2 separate regions of the Homo sapiens genome follow, and region 2 is linked to region 1. The links are contacts of gene promoters, found by promoter capture Hi-C in blood cells and fetal thymus (Javierre and others, 2016). All regions are on one chromosome and are shown on one strand. Each heading gives the region's core, a stretch centred on a gene start or on the middle of the fragment in contact. The rest is flanking DNA. Distances are from core to core; before and after follow the strand shown. Region 1 holds the start of PSMD10 (proteasome 26S subunit, non-ATPase 10). Region 2 holds the start of COL4A6 (collagen type IV alpha 6 chain).

Evidence for each region. Contacts are between HindIII fragments. The CHiCAGO score rates a contact against its expected background, and 5 or more counts as called.
Region 2: a contact is called between the fragment with the promoter of COL4A6 here and the fragment with the promoter of PSMD10 in region 1, in 2 of 17 cell types (fetal thymus and erythroblasts). The highest score is 7.3, in fetal thymus.

What each region holds. Positions count from the first base shown.
Region 1 is chrX:108,088,827-108,095,162 of GRCh38, forward strand. It overlaps PSMD10 (proteasome 26S subunit, non-ATPase 10), which reads right to left and starts at 2,716. Exons shown (of 5, transcript NM_002814.4): 1 at 2,581-2,716; 2 at 1-24. The coding sequence starts at 2,694. ATG4A (autophagy related 4A cysteine peptidase) reads left to right here and starts at 2,952. Exons shown (of 13, transcript NM_052936.5): 1 at 2,952-3,010. The coding sequence starts at 3,001. RefSeq lists enhancers at 2,465-2,864, 2,915-3,154. The HindIII fragment of the contact is 5,520 bases long and covers 1-5,358 here.
Region 2 is chrX:108,432,930-108,440,033 of GRCh38, forward strand. It overlaps COL4A6 (collagen type IV alpha 6 chain), which reads right to left and starts at 5,493. Exons shown (of 45, transcript NM_033641.4): 1 at 5,257-5,493; 2 at 5,013-5,064. The coding sequence starts at 5,267. It overlaps COL4A5 (collagen type IV alpha 5 chain), which reads left to right and starts at 6,909. Exons shown (of 53, transcript NM_033380.3): 1 at 6,909-7,104. The HindIII fragment of the contact is 13,330 bases long and covers 1-6,727 here.

The sequences.
Region 1 (6,336 bases), core at 1,466-3,965:
CCAGTGCAATGCAGTTCTGCTGTCCTACAGAGAAGCAGTAATAGAAACATTCTTGAAATAGAAGGCAAAAAAGCAAGAAAAAAAATACTGGTGCTGGCAAATCTATAGTTTGAAAATACGAAATGCAGAGCACTGGATCCTCAGGTAGGTAACCTTAAACTATATTACTTACTGGTATAAGACAGATGAAGGTTTAAGTAACATGGGGAGAATGACATTGATGAACATACGTAATTCTGGGCAGAATACGACAAGGAAAGTAGTAGAGCAAGAAACTGATTTCAATGCTTTGACAGAAATACATCTTTGGTTGTTTTACTATTACATTATTTACGTACTTTTATGTCAGGCACTGTGCTGGGAGTTTTACATGTATAGTATCATTTAATTCCTACCATTCTACACAGTGCTTATTATCTCCATTTTTCAGATGAGGAAACTAAAACTCCTCAGGGTAAGCAACTTGTGGACGGTCATATGGATACTAAATGGTGAAGTTGGGGCACAACTGTCAGTGAAGTTCTGACTCTGAAATCTCTACTACCACACTGACCTCAAGTTAGATGCTGTAGAAGGAACACATGAATCTAATGGGGGAAGAAATGTTCATTAAACTAGTTGAAATTATCTAGAATTTAAAATCATAAATAAATTAGAAATATAATTTAGAAAACACAACACACAGAAAACAAGAAAATTACTTTTTATAAAAAATAATAAGCTATGGCCGGGTGCGGTGGTTCACGCCTATAATCCCAGCACTTTGGGAGGCTGAGGTGGGCAGATCACCCGAGGTCAGGAGTTCTAGACCAGCCTGGCAACATGGTGAAACTCCGTCTCTACTAAAAATACAAAAGTTAGCCAGGCGTGGTGGCAGGCGCCTGTAATCCCAGCTACTTGGGAGGCTGAGGCAGGGGAATCGCTTGAACCCGGGAGGCAGAGGTTGCAGTGAGGTGATACGGCACCACTGCACTCCAGCCTGGGCAACAAGAGCGAAACTCTGTTTCAAAAAATAAATAAATAAAAATAAATAAAAATTAAAAAAGCTATAGTAGTCATTATTTGTCAAAGGGAATCCCTATTTGCAGTGACTGCTATACTTCTTAGCCCCACAGAATAGAAAATGGTATTTTAAACTCTATTACAAAAAAATTTCAAACACAAAAATAGAGGGAATAGAATAGAAACCCACAGGCCTACTGCTTAGATTTAACAACAAACATCTTGCCCTATTTGCTTTAACTAGTTTTTTCCTTGCTGAGCTTTCCAAAAACAAATCCTAAATATCATGACTTTTCACCCTTCTCTTTCAGTATGTAAAAAATAAAGGTATTTCTTATATAACTATGAGACCATTATTACACTTACTAAAATTAACACTAACTCCTTTAGAATGTCTAATATCCGGTCTGTATTCAGATTGCCCCCAACTGTCTCCCAAATGTCTTTTTGCAGTTGGTTTGTTTAAATCAGGAACCAGACGAGATCCATAAATTGCATTTCTTCATGTTTTTTACGTCTCTTGATGCTGAATAGTTCCTTTCCCTTTTTAAGCCACTGACTTGACTGAAGAATGGTTAAATTTCCAATGGAGTATTAAATCTTAATATAAAGTATTACATTTAAATTTAAATCCTTAAATATCACCAGACCATAATGAAGTAAACCAGGTAAAGATAAGGCCATTTTCAGGTTGAGTAATAAAGGAAAGTTCCAGAAAAGAGAAAACAGTCTCTTGATTTCTAATTCTCTCCCAAAAGACACAAAATGGAGATCTGTAAGTATGGGACAGTCTCACTAGTGCTTACGACACTGTCTGCGAAACACAAGGCCATCTATAAATATTTGTGGGCTTACTAAAGGCACCATGAATCCTAGAAACTGAGGATGAAAGCACGAGAGTCCTGTGAGCAGGAGGGCAGAAAGAAACACTTCTAAACTTCTGTCTACCTCTGCTTAGAATGTCCACTCATTCCCCCATGGAAATCCCACTCATGCTTCAAAGTCTAACTAACCTTCCCTTCTTTGCAAAAACTTTTCCAATTAACGACAGTCATATTCAGCATCAGATCCTCCTATTAACGTGTTCTGAAAGCACCATGTAAACTTCTCTGCCGAGTATTTACCACAATTTGTAATCGGACATGTTTTTGTGCTTATTTTATTGTCTGCATCTTCCACTCCACCGTATCCCCAGCTCCTAGCAAACTGCCTGGCACGGAAGGGGCGTTCAATTTCACATGCGTTACTGAATACAGTTACTAGTAAAGGTAAATAAATCCATATAAAAAGCCTTCCTTTTCACTGATTGGGAGTTTCTGAGAAATGCGGTAGACGTTCTAGAACTATCCAAAAATCAGGGAGCGGAGCTCCGGGCCAACGGGAAAATATCTGAGGTCTGTGGGGCTAGCTCCCGCAGGCCTATCGCGAGTCCCGAGGTGACCCAGGGGGACTGCTTGGGGCGGCGGGGGCGGGGTTCTGCTTCTCTCAGAAACGGGGCCTCCGCTAGGGCCGGGCCCCGAAAGCCACGTAGGGCTTCGCCGACGTCGCCGACTGCGGAGAGACCTAGCGTTGCTTTACCTGGTCAGTTCTAGTAGCCAGGGATTTATCGGCCAGAATACTCTCCTTCAACTCTTCCAGCTTCCCGCTGTAGGCCAGGTTGCAGACCATTAGGTTAGACACACACCCCTCCATTTCGCTGTCCCAGCAACTACTTGTCGCGCGAGCAACGCCCGCCTCACGTCGCCGGCTCCGGCTACGCCAGTCAAAACAGCCGTTAGAGCTTCACCAATCACCGGCCTTCCTCGTTCCCTTTTCTTTTCCCGTCGCGCGGCGCCTCTGGGAGTTGCAGTTTGAGAGCAGTTCCGGGCAGGGAGGCGCCTTTGCTGCCCTCACAGACTTGGCCCCTAGCAGTGCAGAACTACAAGTCCCAGGGATCCTAGCGACCGTCCGTCCGTAGTCAAGTTGCCGGTGGAATTGGCCCAGGATGACAGCTGGAGAATGGAGTCAGGTACGGGGAGCGGCTTTGAGTGGAACCGTGTGAAAGAGCCGGGGTGGGTAGTCGCTGGCGGGTCGTTGAGTCGGCCATATGAAACAGGTTCGGGGGCAGGGCAAGAGTTATGAGAGCCTAAAGGTCCTGTCCCCCGGGGTTCCTGACCTGCAGTGGCAGGCGGAAGGGACAAGGGTTGGAGCTGAGTACTACCTACTGAGCTCGAACCGGTGACTGTGGCTACCCTCCCCCTCCCTGCCACCGCCTAGGGAGTGGAAAGAAGTGGGGGTTAATTACTCTGACATCTCGGCGGTGTGGCATCAGGACAGGGTTCTACCACAGCAGTGATAGCATATGGCACCGTACTGAGGTGATGTGCCAGGGTGATGCCAAAGGCAGGGTGTGATGCCGTGGGAGCCACCTGATATCTAAGAGACCTCGGTGAGTCCATAGCCTGGTGACATCACAGCTTGATGAGGGTCATCTTAAGGATACCGGGCTGTGGTGTTGGCATTTTAATATCACGATATTAACTATGTTGTCAAGGCTTTGCTACAACTATTAAGCTAATAGTGTTTCTTTTTATAGAAATCCCAAATAGTGCCATAGCAGAAGCAATGCAAGACTGATCCTTTATAGGGCATATCCAGAGGACATTATGCCACAACTAGGTAACGATAAGAATACATTCAAGAAAGAGACTCATGATGTTTATGTTTATCCTGTTATAGTGTAGAACAGGAGTTGGGAAACTTTCTGTAAAGAGCCAGATAGTAAATATTTTAGGCTTTGTAGGCCAAAAGGCAAAATCAAGAATATTTTGTTGGTACTTTTATGACAAAAGAGAAAACAAATTTCAACAAATTTTTATTGATGAAATTCAAAATATAATAGTAATTGAGTACTTTTTTTGTAATACAGGAAGACTACCAATGAGAAGAATAGAATTCTTTTTAGGGGATAATATTTTGCTTAATTGGGGCTCAGAATTAGTGTTCCCTATTGTCAAAATTGATTTTAAGTGTTCATCTGTTAATGCTGATCTGTTAGGAAATTTTTACCTATTTAATCTTTGAAAATGTCATTTTACATAGATAGGTACTGCCAAATACTGATATCAATTCATAAACATATACTTTTTTATTTTTATTTTTATTTAATTTTTCAAAAATTTCAGAATAGTTGTAGATTTATAGAAAAGTTGCAAGGTTAGTAGAGTTCCTGTATAACACTCACTCAAAATGAGGCACATTTTACATATCATAAAATTCACTGATTTCAAGTGCATAATTAAATGATTTTTGGTAACTTTACTGAAGTGGGGCAACCATCACCATAAATCAGTTTTAGAACTTTTTGATCCCTCCAGTAAGGTCCCTCATGCCTATTTATAGTTAATCAATCCTCTGTCCCATTCCCAGCCCCAGACAACCACTAATCTACTTTTTTGTTTCTATAAATTTGCCTATTCTGGACATTTTATATAAATGAAATCATACAATATGCAGTCTTTGTGTCTGATTTCTTTCACTTAGCATAATATTTTTGAGATTCATCCATATTGTAGTATGTATCAGTACTTCCTTACTTTTTTATTGCTGAATAGTATTCCATTTTATGGATATAACACATTTTTATCTGTCTACTCACTATTAGATAGGCACATCAGTTTCCAATTTTTGGCTACTATGACTAGTGCTGCTAAGAAGATTAGTATGTAAGTCTTCGTGCGGACATATTTTTTTCATTTCTCTTTGATAGATACTTAAGGGTGGAGTTACTGGATCACAGGGAAAATTTATGCTTAACTTCTTAAGAAACTGCAAAACTGTTTTCCAAAATGGCAGCAACATTTTGCACTTCCACTAGCAATGTATGAGAGTTCCTGTTTCTCCACATCCTTGCCAACATTTGTTATTTACTGTGTTTTTTGTTATAGCCATTCTAAGTGGGTGTGAAGTGGTGTCTCATTGTGGTTTTAATTTATAAATTATAATTTATAATACGGTGAGCATATTTTCATGTGCTTATTAGCCATTCATATATCTTCTTCAGTGAAGTGTCTGTTATATCTTTTGTCTGTTTTTAAATTGAGTTATTTGTTTTTTTAGTGTTGAGTTGTAAGGATGGTTTATATATTCTAGATCAAGTCCCTGAGAGATATATGATATGCACATATATTCTCCCAGTCTGTTGCTTGCCTTTTTCTTTTTTTGATGGTGTCTTTTGAAGTGAAAACGTTTTGAATTTGGGTGAGGTTCAATTTATCATTTTTTTTTCTTTCATGGACCATTCTTTTGGTGTTGTACTTAAGAAGTCTTTGCCTAATTGCAAGGTCTCAGTGATTTTCTCCAATGTTTTCTTCTAAAAGCTTTATTACTTCATCTCTTACATTTAAGTCTATGATTCATTTTGAGTTCATTTTTTCTCTGTGATGTGAGGTGAGAGTCTAAATTCATCTTTTTGCATGTGGATGTAGAAATTGTCCTAGCACCATTTGCTGAATCTCTTATCATTAACGTCTTACATTGCTATGCTATCTATGTCACAACTAATAAGCCCACAGTGGTATATTGCTATTAACTATACCCCATGCTTTTTTTTTTCAAGTTTCACTAGTTTATCTCTAGAGATGCTGTCCCATCCAGGATACCACATTACGTTTAGTCATTGTATCTCCTTAGCCTCTTCTGGTTTGTGACACTTTCTCACACTTTTCTTGTTTTGGTGACCTTGATAGTTTTAAGGAGTACTGGTCAGGTATTTTGTAGAAAACCCCTCAATTTTATGCTTAGACTGGCATTATGTGTTTGGAAGAAAGTCTGCAGAGGTCAAGTACCACATTCTTATCATACACTATCCTCAAACATGATTTTAATTGAGCATATTCATTGCGTGGAATAGAATTCTGTTCTTCTCTTAATAGTGCCTTTTAGCATTATGTGGCAGGTTAATCACTTCCAATTGAAAGTTTGGTGAAAGCTGCTCAATTGCACAGTTAAAGGGATTTTGGAATATGGAATATCCTTTGCACTTGCTTCAGGGTTCAAAAACTGCTGCTGGAACTGTAGTCTGAATTCAGAAAATATATATGCTGCAAATTCTTATGGAAATAGATATCTTGCTTCTTGTTTTAACTTTTATTTCATTTTATTTTGAGACAGAGTCTCACTCTGTCACCCAGGCTGGAATGCAGTGGCACGATCTTGGCACACTGCTATCTTTGCCTCCCAGGCTCAAGCGATTCTCCTGCCTCAGCCTCCTGAGGCGCATGCCACCACGCCTGGCTAAGTTTTGTATTTTTAGTAGAGACAGGGTTTCGCCATATTGGCCAGGCTGGTCTCTAA
Region 2 (7,104 bases), core at 4,243-6,742, 350 kb after region 1:
GTGAAGTCAGATAGAATGGGGACTGCAAATAAGCCATTGGGTTTGGTAATTAGGCAGCCATTAGTAGCTTGAAAGAGGGCTGTTTGCCTGGAGTAGACTCAGTTGAGACTATAATAGGTTGAAGGGTAAGTGGTTGGTGATGAAGACTAGACAATACCCAGGAACTTGGGGGTAATGCAATTGAAGAGGTTAGAGTTATTAAAGTAAATGAAGTGATTTTGTTTAAATTCATTGTTATAACGGAGGAGAATTCAATATTGTTTATAGAAGAAAAATAGAAACCCTAGGAAAGGGATAGATTAAAGAAAGAGAGTTGATAATTGCTCTTAGCTAATTTTCCCATTACTATTTTCCCTTGAGCATGCTTATCAGGTCTTCTATTTACATTTAATTAGACTTTAAACCAAGTAAAAGCCCTATGATCTGCCTCACTGGGACATTCAGGCAGCTATAAAGGACTTGATAGTTTAATATAGCCTGATGTTATCCCACGATGTTCTTTTTCTATGTGTATGTCTTGTCACCTACACAGTATAAGACAAGTCTATACTCCAAGTATATTACTGTATACTGTTTTTTCTTTCTTTTTCTTTTCTTTTTCTCTTTTTTTTTTTGACAAGGTCTAGCTCTATTGCTCAGGCTGTAGTGCAGTGGCATGATCTCAGCTCACCTGCAACCTCCAACTCCTGGGCTCAAGCCATCCTCCCACCTCAGCCTCCCAGTAGATAGGACTATAGGCGTGCACCACCATGCCCAGCTAATTTTTGTATTTTTTGTAGAGACGGAGTTTCACTATGTTGCCTAGGCTGGTCTTGAACTCATGAGCTCAAGCAATCCACCTACCTCGGCCTCCCAAACTGCTGGGATTACAGGCATGAGCCACTGCACCCAGCCATACTTTTAAGATTATTCTAACAGGGAGCTGTGGTGTGTGCCTATAGTCCCAGCTACTCAGGAGGCTGAGGCAGGTGGATTGCTTGAGGCTGTGGTGTACCATAATTGCACCTGTGGTAAAATTATGAAATAATCCATATAATTCAGGCAAATAAAAACCAATATTAATAATTGAGGTCAATCAGTTTTTTCTATTAATGAGATAATAAGGGAAACAGTATACTTTACTCCAGTCATATGGCTTGATTATGAGCTTACAGAATATAGGAGCATATTTATTGAAGACTCCAAACTATGCTTAAAAATTAAAAGATTGTTGGCACTTAGAGTCAACACAATTCCCCTCATGCCTGAACAAACATTAGAAAATGACTGTTTTTGTAAAACCAATTTTCTTAAACTAGGGGTACTTTTTTCATGCCATAGTTTGGCAGTCTAGTGAAGCCTATGGACTCCTTTTTAGAATACTATTTTTTTTTTCCTTTTGAGACAGGGTTTCACTCTGCTGCCCAGGGTGGAGTACAGTGGCTATTCACAGGCACGATGATGGTGCGTCACAGCCTCAAACTTCTGTTCTCAAGCAATCCTCCTGCCTCAGCCTCCTCCTAAGTAGCTGGGACTACAGGCACACACCACAGCACCCTGCTAGTTTTAGAAGTATACAATAAAATACATAGGATTACAATGGAAACTGATTACACTGAAATACAATCATTAAAATGTATAATAAAACAATTTTTGAAATGGTTATATATTTGCTTCTTTAGTAACACTTTAGATAATAACATCTATTATCCCCTCCTCTATCTTAAAATATATTTGAATTTCACCTATAAATAATGTAAATATATTATCATCTATGGATTATCTATTTACAGTCATTTGATGATTTACTTAATAGTGTACTCATACATTTCTATCAGTATCCTTAGTCATCCCAAGATATATATATATATATATTATATATTTATATACACACATACACACACGTATATTATATGTTGTGATTTTTCATAGCTAGCTGATATAGGATATTTGCTAGCAGGTAAAGTAGAAGAGTACTTTAAGGATTTATAGAGACACAGCCCCAGATAATGCAAATATTCCTCTTGGTCTTTAGAACTGGAAGAGATCGTCTCCATCGCTGAACTCCCTTAACATAATATTCATATATTGATGACTACTATACGACTGAAAATCACAGCAGAAAGGACCAACCTGGGCATGTTACAACTTTAAAGAAAGAAGTTGATATTTCAATCAGACCTTGATTTGAGTGCAGCTAAAGGCATTTTACCTATGCTCTCTGCAGAAGGAACAATAGAAATGTTTTCTCTCCTTACCCTCCTCCCAACCCAAATAAGTATCCCCCTAGGCTTTTGACTTTAAGTATGCTTGATTGTATTAGACCTTTTCCTGAAAGCTCATTTGGAGGGGGCAAAGTGTGAAGAAAACATAAGGATCTGACTACTTCGGGATATATGTTTTTTCCTAGATATATTGGCTGATGGTGAGATTTGTATCTTTCTAGACATTTCGCTAACACGATGCAAGTACATGTAGATAATAACTTATCATTAAGCATCCTATCTTCTAAGGAACATAATGACCACCATTGTCTGAGAAAGCAAATTCCTAGAGAGTTAGGAACTATGTTTAAATAAATCTTTGCATGCTGTGCGTGGCCTAGCACAGCCCCTTAGATAGTTAGGCGCCTAACAGCCAAAGACATGGATGTTCTGAGATCCTAGATTCTATTTTATGCAGATAAATTGTGCAAATATTTCACCTGAATGAAGATCATTACTCCTTTAAAGTAAATTTAATGGAAGCTCATTCTTTAACATGGATTTTAACATTTAGTTTTCCTTTACTTTATATAGATGTGCTTTGTAAACTCAGGAAAAGAAAGAGCCCAAAAGCCCCTAAATGACCCAATCTTTAAATGCTTGCCAATATTATTGGCAGCTTAATTCTCACAGTAAAGAGACTTTCTCATAGCAAAACACAACATAGTTCCTGCCAATCTATTTTTAATAGCTATTTTCGTTAATATTAGTCAAACATGGCACAGAGAATTTAAATGTTTAAAACAATCCAAAGGGTGAAAAACACACAAACTCATGAGGATAAACTGGAATTGAGTGTAGAATACGAGAACCAGCCCGTATAGATAAGAATCCCGTGCAAAGAGTGTAAAAGAAAAACAAAACAACCCTTCAGAAAAGTCATCTTCTGATAACTTATTCTGTGACTGTCTTTATATTTGTCATTTTCCCCAAAACTGAAAAAAAGTAGCTTTACAATGTCAAAGATATTTTGCATAAGTAAACAACAAGTGAAGGAAGTGGCTGTGTACTTAAATAAGTCAAAAAATAAAGTATTATCTGTGGAACTCAAGGTCAATTTTAGACTTACCATGGTCAATCATACTGACATAGCAGGTGACATAAAACAATGAGACAGAGTCTAAAACTCATACACCAAAGCAGTGCTTAATTTTGGAGACTCATTTCAATACTTGAAAGAATTGCAAGCATTAAAGTGGTTTTTAAAGGTATTAAGTGACAGGATGCAGTGTTTGTGAAGTCTTCAGCTATCTGGAATGATCTGTAGTGTTTTTCCCAAAAGTACACTGAATAAAATCAGCCAGAGTCTAAAAATAAAAGTTTTGCTTGAGGGTATTCTGCCCATGCATGACACTTTTACAAGTGGCAAGATTCCTGGATGAATTGTTAACTAATCAAATCTTGGCATTTTCAATTAATGTAGTTATTGAGCCTCAAGGTAATACATAACTAAACTTGTATATTGAAGGAATAAGATGGAGAAGTACACAGAGTCTTAGATCAATATCTTTGCTTACGAAGTCCAGAATTTACTTACATAGGAACTGATATTGAGTTAAGGGGTCACAAGATGTTGGTATTCAAGTTTTCTGGCATCTTCCTCTCTTTACAAGAAAAATAGCTTCACTCTGGTATTTTCTTAAAGACATCATATGCCAAGATAAAATAATCCATTTTTTCATAAACACATTGGGTGATTTATTAGGTTGAATTACGTATGGCCCTATAATAGTATTTAAAAATATTTAAAATATTAAAAAGCAGAGCCAATCAGTTAAAATGATCAAAACCCACAAGATAAATATTTGGAATATATATTCATCTCTCATCTATATAGGGAATGGCTTTGGGTATCATTAAGAATTTTTAAAAAAAATACAGCAGTGAAATAGTACTCAACAATTGAACAACTTCGTATTCAAACTCAACAGTTTTTATTTCTGCCAGCTTAAGTAGCTAGTGAAACTGGAAAACTGCAGCATCTTTGATTATTTGGGTCACTCCATCTTTGTGAAATTATCCTAGTAATTCCACTGGAGATTTCAATACTTTCTGGGACCCATTAAACTTTTCTTGACCAAAAGTCTTCAGAAATTTCTTTACCTGCAGTCCCTAGTTGATTTGATAGATGACATCTAAACAGCCTATGAAATGTTAACTTTGATTTTTTTTTCTATTATAACAGCTTTATCTTTTAACTTTCTGGTGATGCAGAAACGAGTAACACGACACATCAGACAGAAATTGAACATCACCTAGTGGTATCAGTTCAATTCAGGTAGTTAAAGAATCCAGATGTTGTCACCTGGTACTGTCAAACGACTCTAAGCATGTACTTAAGTTTCATTTCCATAGCATCTGCGGCACTTTGAAGTTCCACTCCTTGTGCTCTCCTCCCACTCTCAAACTAGTGTGCCAATTCAAGTTCTTGAAGACCAGGGAAAATTATGTTTCTTCTGCCGTGGAGATTGATGCTAGTCATCTTAAGTCGTCTGGGGAAGAGGCTCAGAAATGTGTGCATCTTGTGTCTTCCACTTTTATTTTCCCAACCCGTTACGAAGTTTTGGAAGATATCTTGGTCCCAAAAACACTGACTTGACACTGTGCTATTCCTCTCAAGAATCTCATTAACTCCCATTAGAAAGGGGAGTGGTGTGGACTCCGTCTCGTGGTGAAACTCTCTGCAACCCCCTAACATAAATACTAGAGATGGGGATGGTTAGAGGGTCAAAGGAGGGGGACGGAAAAGGGTCGTGAGAAGAGACTCACCGCTGCTGCCAGTTCCTCGGTCAGGCACAACGTAACCAGGAGCAGCCACAACCTGAAATGGGAGGGAGGGTGAGTAATGGGCTCTCTAGGCTTCGGGGTCGTGCGTCTGCCTGTCGCCCCCCGAACCCTTTTGGATGCCTGCTCCCAATTTCTCTGCAGTGACAGAAGTACCAGTATAGTCCCGGCCTGGCAAAGTAACCCGAAGTAAGAAAGAGGAGGGGAGCTCGGGGCAGCAACAGCTCACCCAGGGTGCATGCTTGCGGCTCCTCCGGAGCTGGGTCCCGGGAGACTGCTAAGCGGCTCCGCGGCCCGTGCTCATCTGGGCTCTGCTGATGCTTGGAGGCTGTTTCCTTACTCAGAACAGAGTAGGTGGACGAAGTGGCCCAGTTTGGAAGAAACTAAACACTGCTTCTAGATAAGAAGTGCTCCAAAGGGAAACAGGCTCAGCGGTGCCCGTTACAACTTGCAGCACTCAGGAGATAGTTCCATGCAGCAGGAGAGGAAAGAATGGAGGGGAAAGGGGCGGGGCTGTCTGCTGTCAATCATCCCCCCTACCTTGGGCAGCCGGTAGTCTTTCTCACTTTCAGGCACCTTTCCACACAACAGCCCTAAGTATCTCCACAGCTTCACACACAGCCCCTTAGAGACCTATACGCTAAGACCTAAGCAACTGTGCATCATATACTTTCAACTTTACTGTTAGGTTACACATAAAGAGACATAGGCATACTATTCCCACATAAGACAGATGGGCCCGAAAGTGCCCTTGCACACATGCCCAAATGCATACAACACTGATTCAAATTGATAGTACACTAGGCTATTGGGAAGGGGAGACAGTTTCTGGAGTTGTAAATCCACTCTGAGCTAAGCAGAACCTAAGGATGAGTGGGCCCTCGTGAAATAGATCCAAAACCTTGAAAGACTCTAAAGTGGTTAATTCTAGGAAGATAGAAATGTTGTGAAGAATTCTTCATCAAATTCTTGAAGATTCTCCAAGGAGTCCGCAGAAAGTATTTTCTAGTTCTTTTGTTACTTTAAAAAAAATCTATATATCAGAATTATCAAAGGAACATTCAAGTCTTTATATGGGAGATATCGATTCAGCTGCCATCAACTCTATTTAAATATTTCCAATTAAGTGTTTATATTAATTCTAAGAAACACTGCACTAAATTTATTTAATTCCCTGCCCTAAATCTTTCTGAAACACAACTACAATGAGAGTCAATACCTTTTACATTAGCTCAATATAGGAGGCATTAATTATAGGATTCAATGCAGCTAAACAGAGATATAGCTGTATTATAATAACATAATACCATAGAATAATTACCAATACCTGCTGAATGCTCCCAGATCTTATACGTATATAACACACATAAAGTATTCACGCACATATACTTATTTTCTTACTTGTTTATAAGCATATACTTTATTTATTCCCAATATTTTCACATCTTCTGCTTGTATGTAGAAACTCTCTGTTCTGTGAGCAGCTGGAAGGTAAAGAAGACCAGCAGCCCAGGGAGCACCGACCAAAATTTGTTTCTAATGAGTAACAATAAAAAGCACGGCCCCTCTGAGATCCATCCGCTAAAAAAATAGTCCCAGTTTAGATCTATTTGTAATTGGCTTTGGTACGCACACCAATGAGATTGGAACTGAGCCTAGAAAAGTAGTATCAACGGAAGGTGCAAATGAACGAATAGAAAAGCTTCCCGGTTGGACTCATGGTGCTCAGTCAACTAGTCTGGAAGTTTCCCTCCCCCAAATAACTGAGCGTCACTCCCTCGCAGGTTGCCGGTGCAGTCTAAAACTGTGGCGGAGTGATACTCAAATTCCCTTGTGCTGGTGAGGAGGGGGGCCTTGCACGGGGAAGAGAGGGAGGAAAGTAGATCTGTAGGAATTGAGTGAAGAAAAAGTTTGCAAGTCTGGACAGAAGGGAAAAGTTCTCCTGAGAGACCGGCTTTGGGGAGGGGAGGGGGGAAGGAAGAGTAGCTCCTTCTTCTTCTTCTTTTTTTTTTCTTCCACTCTTAAAAAGCTTCTTTCTCTTCACCCAAGCCTCACTGTCCCTCTCCGGCTCTAGCTC